Linked DNA regions of Homo sapiens: region 2 is linked to region 1. Evidence: promoter capture Hi-C in 16 types of primary human blood cells and fetal thymus (Javierre and others, 2016). All regions are on one chromosome and are shown on one strand. Each heading gives the region's core, a stretch centred on a gene start or on the middle of the fragment in contact. The rest is flanking DNA. Distances are from core to core; before and after follow the strand shown.

Evidence for each region. Contacts are between HindIII fragments. The CHiCAGO score rates a contact against its expected background, and 5 or more counts as called.
Region 2: a fragment that was not itself captured here is called in contact with the fragment with the promoter of DAB2 in region 1 in 1 of 17 cell types (M0 macrophages); the score reaches 6.7 in M0 macrophages.

The regions. Positions count from the first base shown.
Region 1 is chr5:39,423,566-39,429,735 of GRCh38, forward strand. It overlaps DAB2 (DAB adaptor protein 2), which reads right to left and starts at 1,415. Exons shown (of 15, transcript NM_001343.4): 1 at 1,239-1,415. The HindIII fragment of the contact is 7,828 bases long and covers 277-6,170 here.
Region 2 is chr5:42,986,059-42,992,498 of GRCh38, forward strand. FLJ32255 (a long non-coding RNA gene) reads right to left here. Exons shown (of 2, transcript NR_104643.1): 1 at 4,781-6,440. LOC105374746 (a long non-coding RNA gene) reads left to right here and starts at 6,217. Exons shown (of 3, transcript XR_007058755.1): 1 at 6,217-6,440. RefSeq lists enhancers at 5,750-5,899, 6,240-6,440. The HindIII fragment of the contact is 4,691 bases long and covers 496-5,186 here.

The DNA.
Region 1 (6,170 bases), core at 165-2,664:
ACCTCAAGACTGTAAGGACAATCAAGTATACATCTCATCAAAGCCATTCCAAGAGGCTTATCAGACATCTCAAAGGCATTTTTTGTAGATGCCTGCTTTCCACTCCCATTACTTCTGTTTGCATTAGTTATATCTTACCTCCTTCTCCCCCATGCCCCTGCTTTGCCTGACTAAGGCCAGAAATTTTTTCATGAAGTCACTTTATAGAGCAATAGCAACATTTACTATTCGTGAAGTCGCCCCTCCATAATTTTTAAGTCTTTCCATGTGTCTGGAAGCTTGTTTCTGCTCTTCTCGGTTTACAGAGCGGCTCTCTTCCTTCCAAACAAAAACTAAAAAGAAAGGGGAAAAGGTGGGGGGTGGTTGGGGTGGAGATAACACCCAGATTCCTTAAGTGTTTTTAATCCAGTTGAATTTCCCTTTGGACTCAGCTCCCTGCTGAAACTGTCTGCGGACCAGAATTCCAGGCTCAGAATTAAGTCAAGAGGGAAAGACAGCAGAAACAAATAACAGAGTCAGCTCTATGCTATGAAAACCGCTATGTTGACTGAGGCTCCACGGTTTTAACCCATTCATTTTTCCCCCCTTTTTTAGAATTCTTACTTAATCTTTTTAACCAGCTTACAACAGGCAGGCAAGCACCATATAAACCATGCTCCCTGCGCCGGGGGATATAAAACAAGTTTCTTAAGTCCCTTGGGTAGATACTTCCTTAGGAATGCCGGTGTAAGACAAAAGTTCACATTTTAATGCCATATGTTGTCAGTCACCAGGAAAAAGCTCCTTATGGGCACAAGCCAGGTCCCCAGCCTTTGTCACACAGCAAAAATAAACACCCTTCGAGGAGTTAATTAGGCGGTCAGCAGCCACCTCAGTGTCCTAGGAGGGCTGCCCGCAGACCTTTTACACACACACACACACACACACACACACACACACACACACACACACACACACGACACAAAAGGAGGCGTTTGTTAAATGTCACAAGCTGGGCATCTGGAGTCGGATTCGAAAGGTAAATACATTCCGCGGAAGCATTCCTCAGATGTCAGGCCACAAAACTGCTGGTTTCCCCAAGCACAGGGTCTCATTTCTAAGATTCCCCACAGCCCAAGGTCTGTACTCAAAGAAGGGTAGCGGGGGGCGGGGGGGTGAGAGAGGGGGAGCAAAGGAGAGAAGGAGATCTTTAAAAAAAAAATGGAGCCAGAGGGAAGAAGGGTTTCGAAGCTACTCACCGGCTAGCTATTGCCTCCGTGAAGCGAGCATGACTTCCCCGCGCCCGGAGCCTCCAGGCTACAGCGCAGCGGATGCGGCGGGCCTCGCTTAAATAGCCGCCGGCCGGGAGCTTCGGAGCCGCGCGGCCACTCCCGGCGAGAGATATGGTTCTAATCAGATGCTGGCAGCTGAGGACTCCCCAGGAATGTGCCAGGATGTTTTTGCTGCCTGGGCTTGGTAACTCCCCCTCAACGTGTCTGCAGAGTCTTCCAAACTTAACTGTTTATTAACTCGCGCTGCAGCGGCGCAGAGGACCCCGCTCCCCTGAGCTCCGCGAGCCCCACCAGCTGGGGGCGATCGCAGGGACCCAGCGACGGGAGGGGAAATGTGTTCGGGGAGAAGTCAAAAGCCCCAGACCGACGCGGGCGGGGGGCGGGTGCAAATAAGGACAGGAAAGGGAAGCTCTGGAGGAAAGGGGTGGGATCCACCGAGCTTCGTTTCACAGATCCGTTCCCTGGATTGCCACTGCGAGTGATGTGGCACACGGAGTCATCCTAACCAACCCGTTGGGGCCCTTTGAACAAAGGACTGCCTTTACTCCTGACTTTTCTGACAAGGGACAACGGTTCCTGCGCAGATCTGCAGTTTCTAAAGTTGATCGCGCGATTGGATTTGCTCCCCTTAGAAGAAATTAGTGTCTCCCTCATTGCAGATGCAAATGCGCTTAAGTTAGTGGGAAATCTATGTGTGCATATGTGAAACATACTGTATTTACCTATGAAATATAATCATATATATGGATATAAAAATAATATTCTCTCTGAAATCGATATGAGCAAAACATGTTCACGTCTATGTAGCCTATCAAATAAGTTATAATTCTGATACAATCAGAGATTCTATACAGGCTTCCCTTACAGTGTATATACACCTATATGTAGACACATAACATGACTTTATCTGCATGAATTTCCATAGCACTTCCTATAACTCTAGGAAAAACATGAACTGCAAGAAATAAAATATTTAAAAATGTTAACGTAGAGTGCTGAGCGGTAGAAGGTACTCCGCAGCAAATCCTAATGAGTGTTAACAAGCTGAGAATTCATTTTCTCCATATTTTAAAATCAAGAATTATTGTAAAACATCCACAGAAGCTCTGTTGCTTTTTGGAGAATTCTGAAATTACTCTTGTGAAAGACGTGTCTCTTTTCCCTTTTTTTAAGAAAAAAATTTAATTGTTTAAAGTCAGAGGCAGCACGTAGTAAATGTGAAAATGCTAAATTGTATCTCGGATGGGAGGGGGTTATTGATTTTATCGAGTAAGCAACACAGTGGATTTGCATTTTACCTCTGGAAACTGAGGGTTCAAATAGGGCTCGTGGGACATCAAGGATATATTTTGTGGTCCGTGCCTAGCCTCGACTGCAAAGCCACTGTGTAATTTGGGGTAGCTCAATGTGAGTGGCAATGTCTGCTCTCAAGTAGGTCAGGCTTGAAACAACCGTTGTTCGGGGAGACTGAGGGGTGCAGAGCAGCACAGCTGGCCCAGAATTCTACTTCCCCAGCCTCTACTATTTCTCATCCCCTGACACACCTAGGGGTGTGGAGGCAGGGAGGGCCATGCTGGCAGTTTTCAATATTCCTCAGAGGTAATTTGCTATTTTAAAAAATGACTTTGTGTGAATGACAGGAAGTATACAAATTTTAGTCCTAGGATAGTATTCTATTTATAACATTTATGCAGAGAAATGTAATTCTAGTACATTTTAGAACACAAGGCTTTGTTTCTAAAATCTAGAAGTCCAGTTTCATTTCTATTGGCTAGGTAGCTGGAAAAAGGGCTGCTGACTTCAGGCAAATAGAGACTTTGATAATTAGAAAGACATGGGTGTCTCTTTTAACCTCAATATGTAATATTTTCTAGACTAAGAAGTGCTCACTCAATTCTATTTTTTTTTTTTTTGAAAGACTCTTACCAAGAAATACTAACTTATGTTTGCTCTACCCCACCAAATGGAAGGGATTTGTCTAAGAAGCCAGAGGAAGAAAATGATTTCATCTGCTATGAGTTGTAGTTTCAAGAGAAGACTTTGATGAAAACAGTTCATTTAAGAGCAGTGGGCTCACACTTACAACTTAAAATAGACACCTCTTATTTTGCACAGAAATCTGAAGAGTCGACAGTGGAGAATTCTGGTTTGAACTGTATTTTTATATCTCTAGGGCACCGATATTGCTTCTGGCAGTAATTCAATGTCCTGCTCACATTAAGAAAAAAAAAGAAAAGAAATTTAACTCTTTTTATCCCTCGTGAAACATTGTCTCTGTCTCATCTAAGTTGTTCACTTTTCAACAAGTCTAAAATGAACATCTTTCCCTCTGGAGAATCACGCCAAAGCCCACCCAGATATTTACCCTGCCTAAATAATGGTCTTTTCTTATCACCACTGAAATTTATGTTTAGAAAATTAAGGGGAGGAAAAGTCAGTTCAATGTTTGAAAAACAATAGTCTTTGAATGGCAATTGTCCGTTGCAGAAAACCTGCCTGTGAGAGAGAAGGAAAAAATAAAATAAAACAAATGACTGTGCTCCCAGCCTAGGAAAGGGGTAGTTAATCCCGTGATGGCTTGCTGAAGAATGCATGGTTTATTATTAAAGTAATCTCTTAAGATTTTCCTGGAATGTGCTTCCACAGCAACTCTGCCTGTTCGACCTATCCTATGCATGTGTCTTTTCTTCCATAATTAAGCTGTTTTCCTCTGTTAGCTCACAGACCTAATCCTTTATCCTTTCTCTCCTCCTTCTCCATCACTTCTTCTATCCCCCTCTCTACTGCTCTTGTCTTCCTTAAACTGCCCCTTTTGAAGCCTGTCATTTCTCCTGAATTGTAAATGGCACTTTGGAACTGGCTGTAAGGTAAACTGCCTGTGTGCCTTTGATGCCTTGCTGGACACTTAGAGATGTTAAAATCAAACAAGGATTTGTTGAAGTGGACCTAGTAAGGTCACATCTCTCTCTCTCTCCTTTTTTTTTTTTCCTTCTCCATGTCATTAAAAAAACAATGAAGAGAATGGCTATTGTTCCCAGAAAATGTTCTTTGACCTTGACCAGTCCTGCATATTTAACATTACAGAAAAACTGACCCTACCAGATTTGGTGGCTGGCAAGTCAAAACAAATACTGGAGGTTTTTTTTCATATCTCTGTCTATCCATCTACCTGTCCATCTTCTGATCTAAAATATTTGGAAGATAGTTTCATAGAAGGCAGCCTGTTTGTGTTTTGTTTTCTTGCTTATACCCCTATAGCATCTCAGAACTAATATGTATTTTTCTGTTTTGTGCAATTTTAATGAAACTCAGGTGGTAGACTACTAGGGTACTTGGAAAAATTGGTACTTGTAAAATGAAGAACATTTAAAATTCAATAATATAAATGTATATAACTAATTACACCTCACTTATCAATATAAATTTTTATAATGAGAAATTGTGAAAGGCAAGTAAATACCCATAAAAATTACCATTCAAATAAATACTGTCTTACTTGGAAAGAAACCTAGCAGGAGTTATCAAAAATGAAAATACATAAAACCCTGCAGGAATTACTAATATTAATTGTTATTGTAGCAAACACATACACTTCTCTATCCTAGGAGTAAGAATCTATCCACTAGAAATAAAGCACATGTATAATATGCAAGGATTTTTTTTTTTTTATTTTTCTGAGATGGAGTCTTGCTCTGTGGCCCAGGCTAGAGTGCAGTGGCAAGATCTCGGCTCAGTGCAACCTCCGCCTCCCGGGTTCAAGCAATTCTCTGCCTCAGCCTCCCGAGTAGCTGGGATTACAGGTGCCCACCACCATGCCCAGTTAATTTTTGTATTTGTATTTTTAGTAGAGACGGGGTTTCACCATCTTAGCCAGGCTGGTCTCATGATCCACCCGCCTCGGCCTCCCAAATTGCCGGGATTACAGGCATGAGCCACCACTCCCTGCCCCCAAGGTTGTTAATTGTATCATTTATAGCAGCAGGAAGCTAGGACAAAATATGCCTGTCAATGGAGAATGACTGAGTATGTTATGACTTATCCATACTGTGAAGTCATATGTAACCATTCAAAGGAATAAATTAGAGTCAAATTTTGTGACATGGGAATATTCCTTTAGGTTTTTTTGAGTGAGAAAAGCAAGGTACAGAAAAGCATGGAAAAGATGTTTCTATTTTAGTAATATAAAAAGCAACACCTATTTATATATATTTGGGTATATATGTTTGTGGGTATATATGAAGGATTATCAAGGAGGTTGCAGTACAGATTACTAGGGGCCTGGTGGAGACAAGGGCAGAGAAAAGGGGTGGGAGCCATGCAAAAAGGAAAAAACTGAAAATAGTCTTTATGCAGGTATAGGTCACATTTATGCATTGAAGTGAAATGATATACACGCAGGTTTGTGGGTTTTTTTTCAAAAAGATTATATCATTTTAAGATAAGGAAAGGAAGAAAGGAAATCCTACGAATAGTTTTCATGGAGGTCTACCTTTAGGCTTTTCAAAAGTGAGTATTCATCAGTATGCTCATTGCTTAATTCAGCCTCCAGAGCAATAGTTCTCAAATTGTAGTATTTACGACAGTCATCCCGGAAGTTGGCTACTAGAGTAAATTCCTGGGCTCAGCCTCAGAGACTTCTCTGGAAAGGTCTGTGGTGGGGGTACCAGGGAATCTGTTTTTTGTTTTTTGTTTTTTGTTTTTTTTTTTTGAGACGGAGTCTCGCTCTGTCACCAGGCTGGAGTGCAGTCACGCGATCTCGGCTCACTCAAGCTCTGCCTCCCGGGTTCACGCCATTCTCCTGCCTCAGCCTCCCGAGTAGCTGGGACTGCAGGCACCCGCCACCACGCCCAGCTAATTTTTTGTATTTTTAGTAGATACGGGGTTTCACCGTGTTAGCCA
Region 2 (6,440 bases), core at 1,591-4,090, 3.6 Mb after region 1:
TCTGACATGTGATGTTCCTGCTCCTCCTTTGCCTTACAACATGACTGGAAGCTTCCTGAAGTCTCCCCAGAAGCAGACGCCACGATGCTTCCTTGTACAGCCTACAGAACCATAAGTCAATTAAACCTTCTTTTGTTTTGTTTTGTTTTTTACAAAATGCCCAGTCTCAGGTATTTCTTTATAGCATGCAATAATAGCCTAATACATGCTACCTGCGGAGTTTACATTCATTTCTCTCTGATAAAGTTTAGATGACGTTTCTCCTCCAAATATCATGTTGAAATGTAATCCTCAATCTACAGATGGGGTCTGGTAGGAGGTGTTTGGGTCATGGGGGCAGATCCCTCATGAACGGCTTGGTGCCCTCCCCGCCATAATGAGTTTACAGGAGATCAAGTTGTTTAAAAGGAGGCCCGGTACCTCTCCCTCTCTCTCTTGCTCCTTCTTTCACCATGTGATACACATGTTTTTCCTTTGTCTTCCACAATAAGTGGAAGCTTCCTGACACCCTCAACAGAAAACGCTAGTGTCATGCTTGTACAGCACAAAACTGTGAGCCAAAATAAAAATCCTTTCTTTATAATTTAATCAGTCTCAGTTATCCATTATAGTGTGAACATCAAATATCTGAGACAGGTCTCAGTCAATTTAGGAAATTTATTTTGCCAAAGTTAAGGGCACGCACCCATAACACAGCCTCAGGGAGGTCCTGACCACATATGACCAAGGTGGTCATGGCACAACTTGGTTTTATATACTTTGGGGAGATATGAGACATCAATCAATATACATAAGATGTACATTGGCTCCGTCCGGAAAGGCGGAAAAACTCAAAGTGGAGAGGGGGCTCCCAGGTCATAGATTGGTAAAAAACAAACAGATGCATTCTTTTGAGTTTCTGATTAGCCTTTCTAAAGGAGGCAATCAGTTATGCATTTATCTCAGTGAGCAGAGGGATGACTTCGAGTTCTGTCTGTGCTTTGTCCACAAAGAAATTCCTTGTGAGGGTGAGGGAGGTATGTGGCTTTTTTTTTTCCTTTGAGAGCAAGTTTTGCTCCTGTTGCCCAGACTGGTGTGCAATGGCAGGACCTCAGCTCACCACAACCTCCACCTCCCAAATTCAAGCAATTCTCCTGCCTCAGCCTCCCGAGTAGCGGGGATTACAGGCATGTGCCATCACACCCGGCTAATTTTGTATTTTTGGTAGAGACGGGGTTTCTCTATGTTGGTCAGGCTGGTCTCAAACTCCCGACCTCAGGTGATCCGCCCACATCAGCCTCCCAAAGTGCTGGGATTATAGGCGTGAGCCACTTTGCCTGGCCGGTATGTAACTTTTTCAACTTAGCAGCTATATTCTTTAGGAATAGAATGGAAGGCAGGTTTGCCCTAAAGCTCCCAGCTTAACTTTTCCTTTTGGCTTAGTGATTTGGGGGTCCCTGGATTTATTTTCCTTTCACATTTCCTCCCGTTTCTTTTTAAATTCTTTCAGATAAAGCATTTTACAAGAAAGTGAGTCTCCTCTAACATGATATTTGGAGGAGAAGAGCCATCTGATCTCTCATGGCTACGATGGTTTATTCCCAGTTGGGTAGGACACACATTATTAGGAGGGCTCATTTTTAGCAGGTTGTGAAGTCTCACATCCTATGAAGAGAAAATATGGGTAGGAAAGGAGAAAAACAGCGACAAACAAACCAAAAAAGATAATTCTGGAAAATCAATATGGGCCATAATACTTTGAAGTCCATACATCAGCAGGCAGGTATGAGAGTGGTTTATGTATGTACATAGGTTGTTCTTATTTACTTCTGAAGTTTAAGTTGTCTAGCTTCATTTTGCAGGGCTTTAAGAAAGCACAGTTTAGTTTTCAGTGATTTAAAATTAGGAAAAAATGGGTAAGGGAAAGGAAAAGAAAGAAGAAAATAATTGAAAACATCATTTTGGAGACTTTTAGCCAGAAAAAAATTTTGGAATTCAGTCCAAACTGTAGAAAATAATAAAAATTAAATAACATTAGGCAAGACTAGAATCTAACAGCATGTATACTATAGTTGTTGAAACATAATTTTTCTCTCTCCAGTTTCCCATTTTTACTAAAGAGAAATCATGGTAGGACCTATTCGCTTTATTATACTTGGTCTGATTATTTGTATAAAGTGCCGCAAGAACAATTATTTTTCACACAAGCCTTTTTAAATGACTTTGATGGAACTCTATTCCATAGAAAAAGTCTCAGATAAGACTTTTTAAAAGCCGAGCCCGGCCATGGCTTTGTACCATCGAATACATATGAGTTGGGTAAATTCCCCTCCTCTAGAGGTCCCAAGATCACTTGGGGCTCCTGGGCTTGTCAAAAAGTGACATTCTTTACTTACCACAAATCAGAAACCCTGTATAGGGTCTGTGTAGACAAGGTTTGGGGCCTGTTTTCCCAAGGAGCTTTTATTGGCTCTGTAACTCAAGTTTGACTCCTTAAAGAAAAGCACACCATTTCAGTCAAAGCCTTGGTAAAATAACCAGTTTCTCCAATGGTGTTCTGTTGCAAAAGAAAACATTCTTATTGCACTTATGCAAATAACTACATTGACATAAGTTAAGAATATTCACAAATAGTTTCCAAATTCTGGAGAAATCAGGTAAAGAGAAAGAAATATGCTCCAAATTTTGTTCACTGGAGTATACTTTACTGAATTGTTAAAAGCTGTCAATAGCTCAAAAGTAAAGTTTCCTTGACTCAGGAAAACATAAAAAAGGATCAGCAATTTTTTAAGGATCAGCAATTTTTTAGCAAAAAAGTCAACAATATCATTTCAGTCTTCTATTTGTTCGGTCCATGCAATTAACTCCTGTTTGATATTCACGAATACTTCAGCTCTCCATGAGAGTCCTAAAAGTTTACTCCTCTATTCCACTTTAAAAAAAAAAAAATGTTCCCAAGCAGACTCATGTCACATTTTTCTTTATTCTAATGTCACAATCTCCAGAGTAATTAGAAACCTGCATTCAAAAACACCTATCAAAATCCAATAGCTAATTATAAACGACCTTTTGAAGAGGACTGAAAATAAGACAATTGTCTGTGGATGACAAAGTCTTAGGACAGGGTTTTATAATCTATCAAACATTTGTGGAGAGTGTTTTACAAAAAAAAAAAAAAAAACAAACAAAAACCTTTGAGCTACACAGTGAATGTAAAGCTGAGGCTAGACAGGAATGGGATAGGGTGAATCTTCAGTCCCAGAGATCAACAGCCAATGGTTCATTTTTTGTAGGTTAACCTGACCTGGTGGAGTCCTCCATTGGTACCAAGCACAGTTCTTCACTTTCAACTCTAGATGACTTACCCCGGGGCACTTTTACCTTTTGCTTTCTGTCTAGCCTCCTACACAGTCTTTCTTTTACCTACTCTACTAGACTAAGTGATTATAACTGTTATCATCTTTTCTGAGCCTATAATCAAAAGTCAGTATCTGACAAAGAAGCAGATTGTTAAATCCAAGAATTTCTCTGTATCAGGAAAGTATTAATATGGATTCCTGCCTCCTCATTCATTAGTTGCACAGCTTCCTGCAACATAACAACTGGCCAGAAGATTCACCTGTGCAAATTGCCTGAGTGTTGGAGACTGCTTTTATTTGATCTCTCCCACCATCCACCCCGTTTTTGTTTTGTGTCACTTTCATTTGGTTAATAATATTCTAACAATATTTATCATTATAGTTATCTTGATTTGATGCAATTTTTCTTAATGAGATTGATAAAAATATTAGTCTTTCTTAATTCTTTATTATTTATTGTTTTGGATAACACACTGGAAAGGGAAATAGGAAAGGCTCTACATCGTTTGTCATATGTGCTCCACAATTTGCCCTCAAGTTTGATTCCTAGGTCCTACCACCCACACAAAACTGCCATCACCAGCCTGCTCCAATTCTACCCAATTACTAGCCATTGTCATAATTCAAAGTTCCTATGACCTCCTCCAAAGGAGCACAATTTTGTATTTGATCACTTTCTGACCTCCCTGGAATCTACCCCACCTCCAATCACACTAGGATTAGAATCTAAATTCTGCAGCTACCTTGATATCAGTCTCTGTAGGGAAGCAGCCTGCAGCCTCCTATGGACTCCCATCAAGACAGGTTACCTTTTCCCGCTACAGGGTGTTGCTCACAGATTTTTTTTACTAAGATGGGAAGCTGGAGTAGAAATGGGAACAGAGGGCCGGGCACGGTGGCTCACACCTGTAATCCCAGCACTTTGGGAGGCCAAGGCGAGCAGATCACGAGGTAAAGAGATCGGGACCATCCTGGTCAACATGGTGAAACCCCGTCTCTACTAAAAATACAAAAATCAGCTGGGCGTTGTGGCACGCTCCTGTAGCCCCAGCTACTCAGGAGGCTGAGGCAGGAGAATCCTTGAACACGGGAGGCAGAGGTTGCACTGAGCCGAGATCGCGCCACTGCACTCGAGCCTGGTGACAGAGCAAGACTCTGTCTCAAAAGAAAAAAAAAAGAAATAGGAAGAGAGAACTGATGGTAGGTATTTTGCTTTGCAATGACTCCAGACTGCTCTTCTATTTCATAGTGTCTGTAACTATGTGGGTGAGAACAGTGTAGTTTTTCCTTTATTCTTGCAACCACAGGACCAGGAGGCAATTGGAGGAGCCTCAAATAGCAGGGAAGGTTTTGGCTAGCTGAAGAAGGGGTATGGTGGGAGGGAGATATTGAGGCAAATCCCTTGGGAGACAGAATTGCAAGGGCAAAATAGATTTCCTTACCTGGCAGTGCCTTCTCTGCCTTTGTCCTGCCATCGCTTCTGCCTAGGATCCCCCAGAAAAGGATAGTACTGGTTTGCACAGGAGCAGAAGTGGTGAAAATGGGAAATGATGAGTGTGGATGGAGATGCTCATGGCAGGGTCTGTAGGTCTCTTTGAGGGGGCTCAACTCACAAAGTGCAGATTTTTATTGAAATATGAATGCTTGTAGAAAGGACATTTTCCTACTGAGCAATGGCAGTTCCATATTTCTTATCAGAAAGGAAGTAGGCCTCAGTCTGATTGAACAGTGAGGAGAGGGAGGATTCAACACTTACAAGTTCACCTGCATTGCATTTCCCAGAAGAAAGAAGAAAATCAATAACGCATTTCAAAGATCACGGTGCTAGAGACAGAGAACCACAATTTAAGCTTTTCCCTGGGCTTAGAGGCGGATGTCTCACTGCCAATTTCACGTCCAACACCGGAGCCTCGCAGTCCATTTTTCTCCCCAGCTGTTTTAGAAATATCCCCAAATATCAAGGACATCTGAATGAGTGAACCATCAGAATAAGGAGCGATTCCCACAGAGTTCCATCCCACAGGGAAGGGACGGGACCAGCGGGGCAGGCCTGAAGCCTGGGTTGAGCGGCGCTGTGCCTTTCATTCTTCACCGAGATCTCGGACCTAGAGTTTCCAGGTTCCGGAGGGATGCGGTTGTTGACCGCTAGCCTAGAATCCGTGAGGGCTGAACCGGGACGAAGGCCTAGGACAGAGAGGTGGTGTGGAAGGACCCAGCCGCGGCCACTGGAAGAGCAGCTTCCTGCAATGTAAAGTGTTCGCGACCTGCATTTGTTTTGCTTTCTTCCTGGAGGAGCCAAATCCGTCCCATTCTGGATCCTTATTCCAGCTCCTTTCCCTCTGCGAATCGCACTTGGTGGGTCGCGGGGCCCTCAGTAATTAGGGATCACGGATCAGCCAAGAAAAATACAGGTTTTCTTAAGCCTGAAGCCACTGACTTGAGGAGGGAGCGTGGGAGTAATGTCAGTAGCAGTTTTTTATTTCGTTTTCGTTTTTATTTTCTAGTCACTAGGCCACCAAAGAAAGTTCCACCCAACGGCCAGTCGATCCGTCGCAGCGACTCTCTTTTCCCTGAACGGAGGGTTTATGGCTGACACCTCCACTTGTTTCTCAGAGCCGGGGCTGACTGCCGGCTGCATCTTTGAATGGCGACCAAAAAAGACATGCATTTGTCTGGCAAAGTCGCTGGCGTTCGCCTGGTGCCCGCGCTTGCCGGGTCCTAGAGCAGCCAGATTTTCACACCAGCGAGTCCAGCGCCCAGCGCCACTCCGCCTTCGGATCACCGGTTTCTCACATCCGCAGCAGCACTGGCCTGACAGTTTTCCGGTTGCGACAGCGCTAGTTGAGCCAAACAAAACGTTTTCCTGCTTGCTCTGGGCGTCCCATTCTCCATCCGAGGCCTTCTAGTCCCGGTGTCACTGTCGCAGCACCTGGCGTTCGTTAGCTCTTTCACCAGCGGCGCGGAGCGGGCGGTTTTGCTGTCACGGCACATGTGGCACGGAGTTTCTCGGTGGCCGAAACCCTCTTTTTTCTCAGAGTCCAGTTTCTTGGTGACAGCGCTGTTGGTTGCGCCATAAGGAATGTTGTCCTTGACAACCCGCCG